3 separate regions of the Homo sapiens genome follow, and regions 1 and 3 are each linked to region 2. Evidence: promoter capture Hi-C in 16 types of primary human blood cells and fetal thymus (Javierre and others, 2016). All regions are on one chromosome and are shown on one strand. Each heading gives the region's core, a stretch centred on a gene start or on the middle of the fragment in contact. The rest is flanking DNA. Distances are from core to core; before and after follow the strand shown.

What was found. Contacts are between HindIII fragments. The CHiCAGO score rates a contact against its expected background, and 5 or more counts as called.
Region 1: a contact is called between a fragment that was not itself captured here and the fragment with the promoter of NEUROG2 in region 2, in 1 of 17 cell types (total B cells). The highest score is 16.6, in total B cells.
Region 3: a fragment that was not itself captured here is called in contact with the fragment with the promoter of NEUROG2 in region 2 in 3 of 17 cell types (total B cells, endothelial precursors and naive B cells); the score reaches 12.6 in total B cells.

What each region holds. Positions count from the first base shown.
Region 1 is chr4:110,632,264-110,634,963 of GRCh38, reverse strand. It overlaps a transcript of PITX2 not described here. Among named protein-coding and RNA genes, the nearest start is that of PITX2, 11 kb to the right of the region's middle. RefSeq lists an enhancer at 2,135-2,647. The HindIII fragment of the contact is 9,925 bases long and covers 1-2,700 here.
Region 2 is chr4:112,514,928-112,517,627 of GRCh38, reverse strand. It overlaps NEUROG2 (neurogenin 2), which reads left to right and starts at 1,448. Exons shown (of 2, transcript NM_024019.4): 1 at 1,448-1,781; 2 at 2,152-2,700. The coding sequence starts at 2,153. NEUROG2-AS1 (NEUROG2 and ZGRF1 antisense RNA 1) reads right to left here and starts at 2,249. Exons shown (of 4, transcript NR_161159.1): 1 at 1,988-2,249. LOC124900760 (a long non-coding RNA gene) reads right to left here and starts at 823. Exons shown (of 2, transcript XR_007058231.1): 1 at 589-823. RefSeq lists enhancers at 227-346, 447-546, 1-677 and silencers at 687-966, 2,287-2,356, 2,617-2,700. The HindIII fragment of the contact is 11,776 bases long and covers 1-2,700 here.
Region 3 is chr4:110,613,565-110,616,264 of GRCh38, reverse strand. It overlaps PANCR (PITX2 adjacent non-coding RNA), which reads left to right and starts at 807. Exons shown (of 2, transcript NR_147203.1): 1 at 807-958. RefSeq lists an enhancer at 1-204. The HindIII fragment of the contact is 2,630 bases long and covers 60-2,689 here.

The DNA of each region.
Region 1 (2,700 bases), core at 23-2,522, 1.9 Mb after region 2:
AGGCCTGGTCATTAAATGAAGCATAAAAATGCAAGTCTCAAGGCTCATTTTGACTGCAAAATAAATCTCCAAGTCACAAGGACATGTAGGAGTGAGCTAAGGAACACGCCTTGACCTTCTTTTCAGTCCTTAGAGTGGAGCTCTATGAGTTCTTGAAGATTTGTTTTGTATTGCTTTGTTTGGTCTTCAGCACTGAAGCACGGGGAAGTGGGGGGAAGAATGTGTAATAATTGACTGACTTTACACCAAGCAACGCAATCTTTTTCTTTTGTATATTTCATTCTTTAAAAAAAATAAATAAATAAAAACTATTTGCAGTTACCATCTGCAGTGCTCCGGCTACCAGCTAATAATGCAGCCAGTTCAGACATATAAAAAAAAAAGATTATCGAAATGATGATGACATGCAAATTTCCTCCGAAATTATCATAAGTAAACATTTGAAGTCTGGACTAATAAAATCCCATCTGTGTTACTTCATATCGAGTTAGTAGAAAGCTGTGATAATGAATTTTGTAATATCTCACGAACAGACATCTCAATCAGGGACTAATCCTGTGATTTTACTGCAGAATCACTAAATCTGGAGCCGCCAAACTGCTACTTCTGGGCCCACGGGCCCACAAGGATCGAATCGGCAGAGTCCCCGCCCGCGTTCTCGCTAGCGGGTGGGGGAACCGCCTGGCCGTCCCCACCCTGGATCCCCACGCCACAGCGCCGGGCAGCCCCTCCTGTAGGCAGCGACCTTGGCCAGAGGCTCCCCAGGGCCCAGCTCCCTTCAGGAGAGGCCGAGACGCAGGGAAACGGTACTCAGGCCAGAGGCAGGCCCGCAGCTCCCTGCCCCGCCTCTGTGCCTCCGCCAACCCGACAACGCTTGCTCCCACCCCGATCCCCGCACCCGCGCGAAGTGGGCCCTCCGGTCGTCGGCGTACCCTGGTTAGCGTGGAGAGAGGCAGGCGCTGAGATCGAAGGGGCCTAGGGAGCCCTGGACCTTCTTTTCTTGTCTTTAAAGCAACCGCGGCTCTTCTACCCACCCGGTGGAGCCCCTCGAGACCCACCTCTCCCGGCTTGCCTGTGGCAGAGAAGGGGGAGCGCGTTAAATGCTTGGCTCGCTGCGTTGTGGTTGAAAACGTGAAAAAGATTTGGCTCGCCCGGGAGAGAAAGGGGGAGAACTGGGTAGCAGTTATACCAGAGCTATTTCTCCGTCCTTGGCGGGCAGTAAACCCTCCAAGAACGTTTGCCCTGCTCTCCTCAGTCTCGCTCAGTCCACCCAGTGTCTCTCCTCTGCGATCTTAAATCATACTTTAGGGTAATTATTTGTAGTAAGTAAATAAATGGCCGGGTTAGTATCTCTAGGAGAAAGTGTGGCTAAATATGGAAAAGTGGCTCCTGATGGATGAGAGGCCCGAACTCAGCTCGCTCCTGAAACACCCTAGGCCAAGAGCCCGTTCGTTTCAGAATTACAGAAAACCGAGGGAAACTGCTGTCTAGGACAGGGGCACGTTGGCGCTGATGTTCTACAAATGTTTACCGAGCTCCAACTAATGGACAAGCACTGAAGGGTGGTCTTTGCATACAGCTTCCCAAAGAGAAAAGTCCTCTCCACCCACCCACTCCCGCTGCCATTGCGTTCAGATGAGTTCTTAACCCCGGCACCGAGATTCTTGAAAGTAGGTCCACAGCCTCCCCAGCACACTGTGGCTTTATAGTCCTCTAACCTCTGGGCACTTTTGCGGCAACTCTGGAGGGAGATCCCCTCTTGATAAATAAATGTCCTGGGCCCGAGGCTAGGCTGGAGATGCTGCTGCACAGCCAGAGGCTGTCAGGTCGGAAAAACACGCCTGAAGCCTAGCACACAGTAGGCGCCTAACAGCTAGTGTAACGTAGTCTCATCTGAGCCCTGCTCACTCGACGGCCGCCGCTTCTTACAGCCTTCCTTCTCTTCTGTTTTGCAGATAACGGGGAATGGAGACCAACTGCCGCAAACTGGTGTCGGCGTGTGTGCAATTAGGTAAGAACCCCCTTCTCCTGCCCGGGTCATCGGACGGGAGGCCGCGCCACGTGAGGGCGGCAAGAGGGCACTGGCCCTGCGGCGAGGCCCCAGCGAGGGGCGCTTCCCCGAGGGGCCAGCCTGGGCAGGAAGGAAATCAGAACCAAATCGCCAGTGGCCTCTCCCTGTGGCGGGGCGGTGGACTAGGAAGCAGCGGCGCGCTGTGTACCGAAGCCCCCCAGCCTACTCCTCCCGGCTGGAACCGCCGGCAACCGGGGAGGCGCAGAAAGAGTACGCCATCCTGCCCCGGGTTGCCAGAGGGTCCGGGGGACGGGGATGCCGTCAGCTCTTTCCTCTAACTGGGTCTTTGCTCTTTGTCCCTCTTTCTCCTCCGGCCTGCCTCGCCCCTCCCCCTCCTCCCGTCCCCGGCTCCTTTCGGCCGCGGTCCGGGACGCCTCTCTCCGCACGTGGGGCGGGCGCGCGCGTGGCCCAGGCGTGCAGCCGGCGGCCGTTGAATGTCTCTTCTCCAAAGACTCCGAAATCAAAAAGGTCGAGTTCACGGACTCTCCTGAGAGCCGAAAAGAGGCAGCCAGCAGCAAGTTCTTCCCGCGGCAGCATCCTGGCGCCAATGGTAAGGCCGGGAGGGAAGCGCAGGCCGCGCGCTGGGCACCCGCCTCCGGGACTCTGGGCCTCGGGCGAAGCGCAAGAAG
Region 2 (2,700 bases), core at 199-2,698:
AAAGTTAATTTGCAAAGGGGATCTCAAGGGACGCCACTCCGGTCTACTGAAGTCCGGATCCATCCCCATGTCGACAAGAGGGTGGGCATGAACGTGGGGAAAGTGGGGAGGGCTAACGAGCAATTGAGAACAAGTTTCCCCCGAGGTCCAGTAGCCCTTCAGCTCTTTTTTCTCATTGAAAAGCAGAATTGGGAAGATGGGCCCCTTGTCCCTACAACGCCCCCCAGCGCGGAGCAGAGGTCACAGAAATGTCAGCGCAGCGCATTTGCTTGCAGGAGCAGCAGCTCTGCCGCTCCTCCCGCTCGGTTCGCTGCCACCCACGCAGGAAGCCTCCTTGCTGTCCCTCCAGGCTATAAACTGGGTTAACCCCAGCAAAACCTGCATCAGTGCCCGGAGCCTCAGTTTCCTGTATGTAAAATGAGGGGGATCCTTTCAGCTCTAACATGTGAGTGATTTCATTCTCACATCCTCTAAAAGCTCATCAACTGCTCCCCTATCCGACCTCCCCTCCCAAGAGACGCCTGTTTGAATCCCCAGTGTCCTCTCCCTTCACTCTCCCACGCCAGTTTCGACGGACCCCAAACACACTTGTTCACGAGGTGTCCACATCTCTCCATCCACGCCATTCTCCTCCCCTAACCAAATGAATCCATTTTAAAATCGTTTACTATTTGATACAACCCCTAAGAGGCTTTGCCAAGAGACGCCCGGCAGCACCACAGGGCTAACTGCTTTCCCCGGGATTCTGACCCCCATTAACTAATTCCTAGTTCCCATCACCCGGGAGTTAGGAGGGCCGGCAGCGCCGGGTGCGGTGCCTGCGCGCGCGCCGGGCGGGGGGAGCCTCGGCGGCAGCGAGGACGAAGGCGGGGGCGGTAGCACGGGTCCCCCCATCCGCCCCCAGCGCTCGGGCCCCTAATGAGCTGCTGAAAGGGAGCGGGCTCCGGTGCGCGTGGCTCGCAGGCCTCCCGGAGTCCAGGGCGCCCTGATTGGCCAGCTGCGCCTCGCGACCTCCATTCATTAATAAATTAGCGGCACGCTCCAGCCGAGCGCGAGCCACCAATCACAATGGACAGCGGCGGCGACAACAGCCGCAGCTTGAGCCTCTGCGGCCGCTGCGGCTTCGCCAGCTCCGGCCGCAGCCCGGAGCTCCAACAGGAGCTTTAGAACCATTTTATGTTGATTAGATAAAGGGGGAAAAGAGAGGCGGGGGTGGTGGGAGGAGGAGGATGGATGGCAGGGCCAAGGGAGGGGGAAAGGCGGTGAAGAAAGAGGAAGAAATGAATGATGATAATGCAATGAAAAGAATAAGCCAGAGGAGGGAAAAGCGGGGGAGAAGGGGGGCAGGACTGACAGGAGGAGGAGGCGGTGGCGGGGGAGGAGGGGGCCCGGGGCAGATCTGATTGTTTTCTTGGTGGTATATAAGGGGTTTTAAGGAGAGTCGTGTGCCAGACACGCAGCCACTGAACCACAAGCAGCTTCGCGTTAACTGGAGTGCCTGGGAGTCGCGTGCCAGGAGCCGCACGGCCAGGGACTGACTGACAGACAGACACGCACCACCACCACAACACACGAGACCCGGGCGGGCCGCCGCCGCCGCCGCCGGGGCTCTTGGCAAACTCGCCGGTCGCAGAGGTCCCCCGCGGAGCTGCGCCACAGTAGCGCCGGGCTTGCAGCTTTCACGCCGGGCGAAGGACCCGGCGCTGCGCTCGCAGCTGCGCGGAGATTCCCGGCACAGGCCAAAGTCACAGCAACGCTGAGGCACAGTTAGAGCCAACTAAGTAAGTATTCGAGCCACCGCTTCCAACTACGCAGGTGGTTTCCCCGCACTCAGTCCAACCACACCCGCACGCCCTCTGCTCCGCGCAGAATCTTTGTCGCGGAGGCCGCAGTCCCTTCTCGGGGAGGGAACGCAGGACCGCCCGCGGAGGGCAGGACCCGGCTGACTGGCAGCAGGGTCACAGCGAGCGCTAGCGGCGCTCCTGACCTTGGTTAGCACTGCCTGGGTTTCTTCCTTCGCCTTCCTGCTCCGCGCCATTCGGAGCTGGTCTTCTCGGGTGCGCGCCGGAGCACGCCCCTGTGACACGAAGATCGCGCCTCTGTTTCTTTCCTTACACCTCACTGCCTTTTTCCCCTTTCTCTCTTCGGTAGGATGTTCGTCAAATCCGAGACCTTGGAGTTGAAGGAGGAAGAGGACGTGTTAGTGCTGCTCGGATCGGCCTCCCCCGCCTTGGCGGCCCTGACCCCGCTGTCATCCAGCGCCGACGAAGAAGAGGAGGAGGAGCCGGGCGCGTCAGGCGGGGCGCGTCGGCAGCGCGGGGCTGAGGCCGGGCAGGGGGCGCGGGGCGGCGTGGCTGCGGGTGCGGAGGGCTGCCGGCCCGCACGGCTGCTGGGTCTGGTACACGATTGCAAACGGCGCCCTTCCCGGGCGCGGGCCGTCTCCCGAGGCGCCAAGACGGCCGAGACGGTGCAGCGCATCAAGAAGACCCGTAGACTGAAGGCCAACAACCGCGAGCGAAACCGCATGCACAACCTCAACGCGGCACTGGACGCGCTGCGCGAGGTGCTCCCCACGTTCCCCGAGGACGCCAAGCTCACCAAGATCGAGACCCTGCGCTTCGCCCACAACTACATCTGGGCACTCACCGAGACCCTGCGCCTGGCGGATCACTGCGGGGGCGGCGGCGGGGGCCTGCCGGG
Region 3 (2,700 bases), core at 125-2,624, 1.9 Mb after region 2:
AATATCATTGTTTTTTCGCCTTAGTTGCTTTCATCTGAATGAAACTTTACCTAGAAGCTTTTGGAGCTCGAACACTGAGTCTTTGTTCTGCAAGAAACTGCTGCTGCCACTTAAAGAGATCGCAGATAATGTCCCCGATTTAAGATCAGTGCTCAACGCACACTTTCTTTCTTTTTAAAGCTCTGCCTCCGACTTGCGGAGGGATCACGCAGCAGTGGGGGGCAGATAAAAGCCCTTTGGACGAGGGTCACCTCCCACCATGTTGTTCACTTGAGAGCAGTGGAGAGGAAAACGGTCCCCACGGGCGGACTTTGGCTTCTGGAGCCGCAGGGCCCAGCGGTCCCGGCCTCTCCGCCTCTCAGCCTGGTAGGGGGCGGGGAGGGCCAAAGGGCGGAGGGGAAGGAAGGAGCTAGAAGAGGGGATTTGGGGATGGGGGCTGGAAGCGCTAACGAGACCTGCCCGGAGGATTTAGGTCTCCTGCAGGTTGGTGAGTGATTTGGGAGCTCTGGGTAAAAGAGGTGTACCTCGGCCTAGTTTGGTTGCTGAACTAGAACAACGCGAGGACATCAATCAATCTGCAGGAAACAAAAAATGGAAGTCGAGGTTTAGGAAGAGTTGTCACTTCCCCGACTTGAGTGGTGCAGGCTGGGGGCGGAGACTTGGGACCTAAGAGAGGCCATTTCTCTCACCTCAGCTCCCTTCCCTTGGACTTCCAAAAGGAATAATTTTACTCTCTCCTCCGTTCTCCCCACAACTCTCATCCCCGCTAGCCCGCAGGCCGCCTGCCCCTTTCCGCACCTCCTTTTCCCATCCAGCGAGAGAAACCTAGCTCCCAGAGCCGGTGCAGTCAGTCCCCTCGCCCCTCCCGCCCCTGCACGGGTCCCCCTCTAGCCGTCGCTGCAACCACCACCTCGGTTCCACTCAACCGATTTTTGCTGCATGTCAACACTTATTACCGGTGAGTGTGAGGGTATTTTTTCTCCTTCTCTAGGTCTCTTAATGATTTCTGAGCTAGTTGTGTATTAAAGTGCTTAAAGGAACCTTTAACATAATCTATAGCATGAGCACCAACCTTCCCCGCTTGGGTTCAAAAATGGCGAGCTCGAGGTTGGGCCCGGAGGCGCCCAGGCCTCACTGGCCTCAGCGCACTGCCGCCGTGCTCCTTGAGCGCTCAGAGGTTCGCCAGGCCTGGGGCAGGAACCCCGCGCAGACGATCCGCCGTCTGGGGGCTTTCTCCCCGCCACCCCCTTCCATCCCTCACCTGTTACTAGCAGGCACCTTTTCTTCTCTCGGTATCTTTGGCCTATCCTCGGGTTTTGTTTTATTAAAAAAAAAAAAAAAAAGTAAACCTCTTTAAAAATTTCCAAGGCCCCAAAGTCTTCATTCCGCTAATACCGATTTCAGATTAGTGGAGACCTGGGAAAAGGTGTATACAGCCCATGATTGTCTCTCCTTCCTCCCAATTCCTAAATCTGAGTTTTAGTGTTTACGACTTGGTTAGAAATTTAATTTTTAAAAACATGTTGGAGAGCCTGGGCCGAGTAAGTAGTTTGATTAGAAGGCAAATTCTCTTCGCCTCCTTGCCCTGCTTTTTCCCTCACCCCCACCCCCTTTCTATTAGATGCTGAAGCCGGGGGGTGTAGGGGTGGGGGTTAGGAGTGTAACAAAAAAATTAATGGGACAATATAAACAGCGTCTTAAAAGTCCTAATATTCCTCGAAAGCCGTATAAATTAACCCTGTGAAGAGTGAGCCCTTTTAAGGCGAGTCTATAAAAATCCAGCGTGATCTCGAAGGAGGACGACCCTTCCCCCAATCCCTGTCGCGAATGTGACCAAACAAAGGTCTGTCCTGCAATCCACATCCTAATCCACGGATGCCCCCGCCGCCGTCGCCGGGACTCCCCAGCCTCCAGCCGCCCTTAGTGGACGGAGCTACCCTGGGAGTCCCTGGCTCCGCGACTTAACTTTTTTAGAGAGGGGGAAAAAAGGAGGGGGTGTAATTAGATCAGAGGCCTTTATGAATATAGACTCCCTATTGATTGATTTATAAACCCCCTGAGGAACTGCAGTTAATCTAAGCACACCGGGAAGCAAGAAACGTGGTTGACTGAAGAAGTCTGGAAGTAAACGAGAGGAATTTCTGGTAGCAGATTTTCAGAAGGAATTTTTTTAAAAATAGCTTTTCTTCCCCAGGTTCCCAAACATTTCATTAACTGAACTTGAGAAAATGGTAATTCGAGTTTTTTTTTTTAAGGGGGTTAAGTAGAAACACCATTGTAAACACGTAACTGATTTACCTTTTCAGGTTCTAGCAGATGAACCCAGGGAAATTTTACTCTAATCTTAAAAATTTATCACACTTGGCCCCTCCCACCCTTCCCTGCCCCCTCCCCAAAGGGAGGACTTCCCATTGTTGACTGTCTATCTGAAAAGATAGAAAGCAGAATTTACTGTGTTTGGGATGCATAACTTCATTCACTTCTGTGCTGAGTATTTTATGCATTTTTAAAATGTAAATGTTGATTTTAGATTTTTTTGAAGAGTAGAGAATCCTGCAAGAAATGAAATACCCCCTGAAGATATATTTAATTATACTTAATTACCTTTAAAAGTCATTTCTACTCCTTTTGTAACAATACATTTCTACAGTTCAGTGGTAGTTGTGGAAAACAGGAGCTATTTGAAGCTTAAGTTACTCT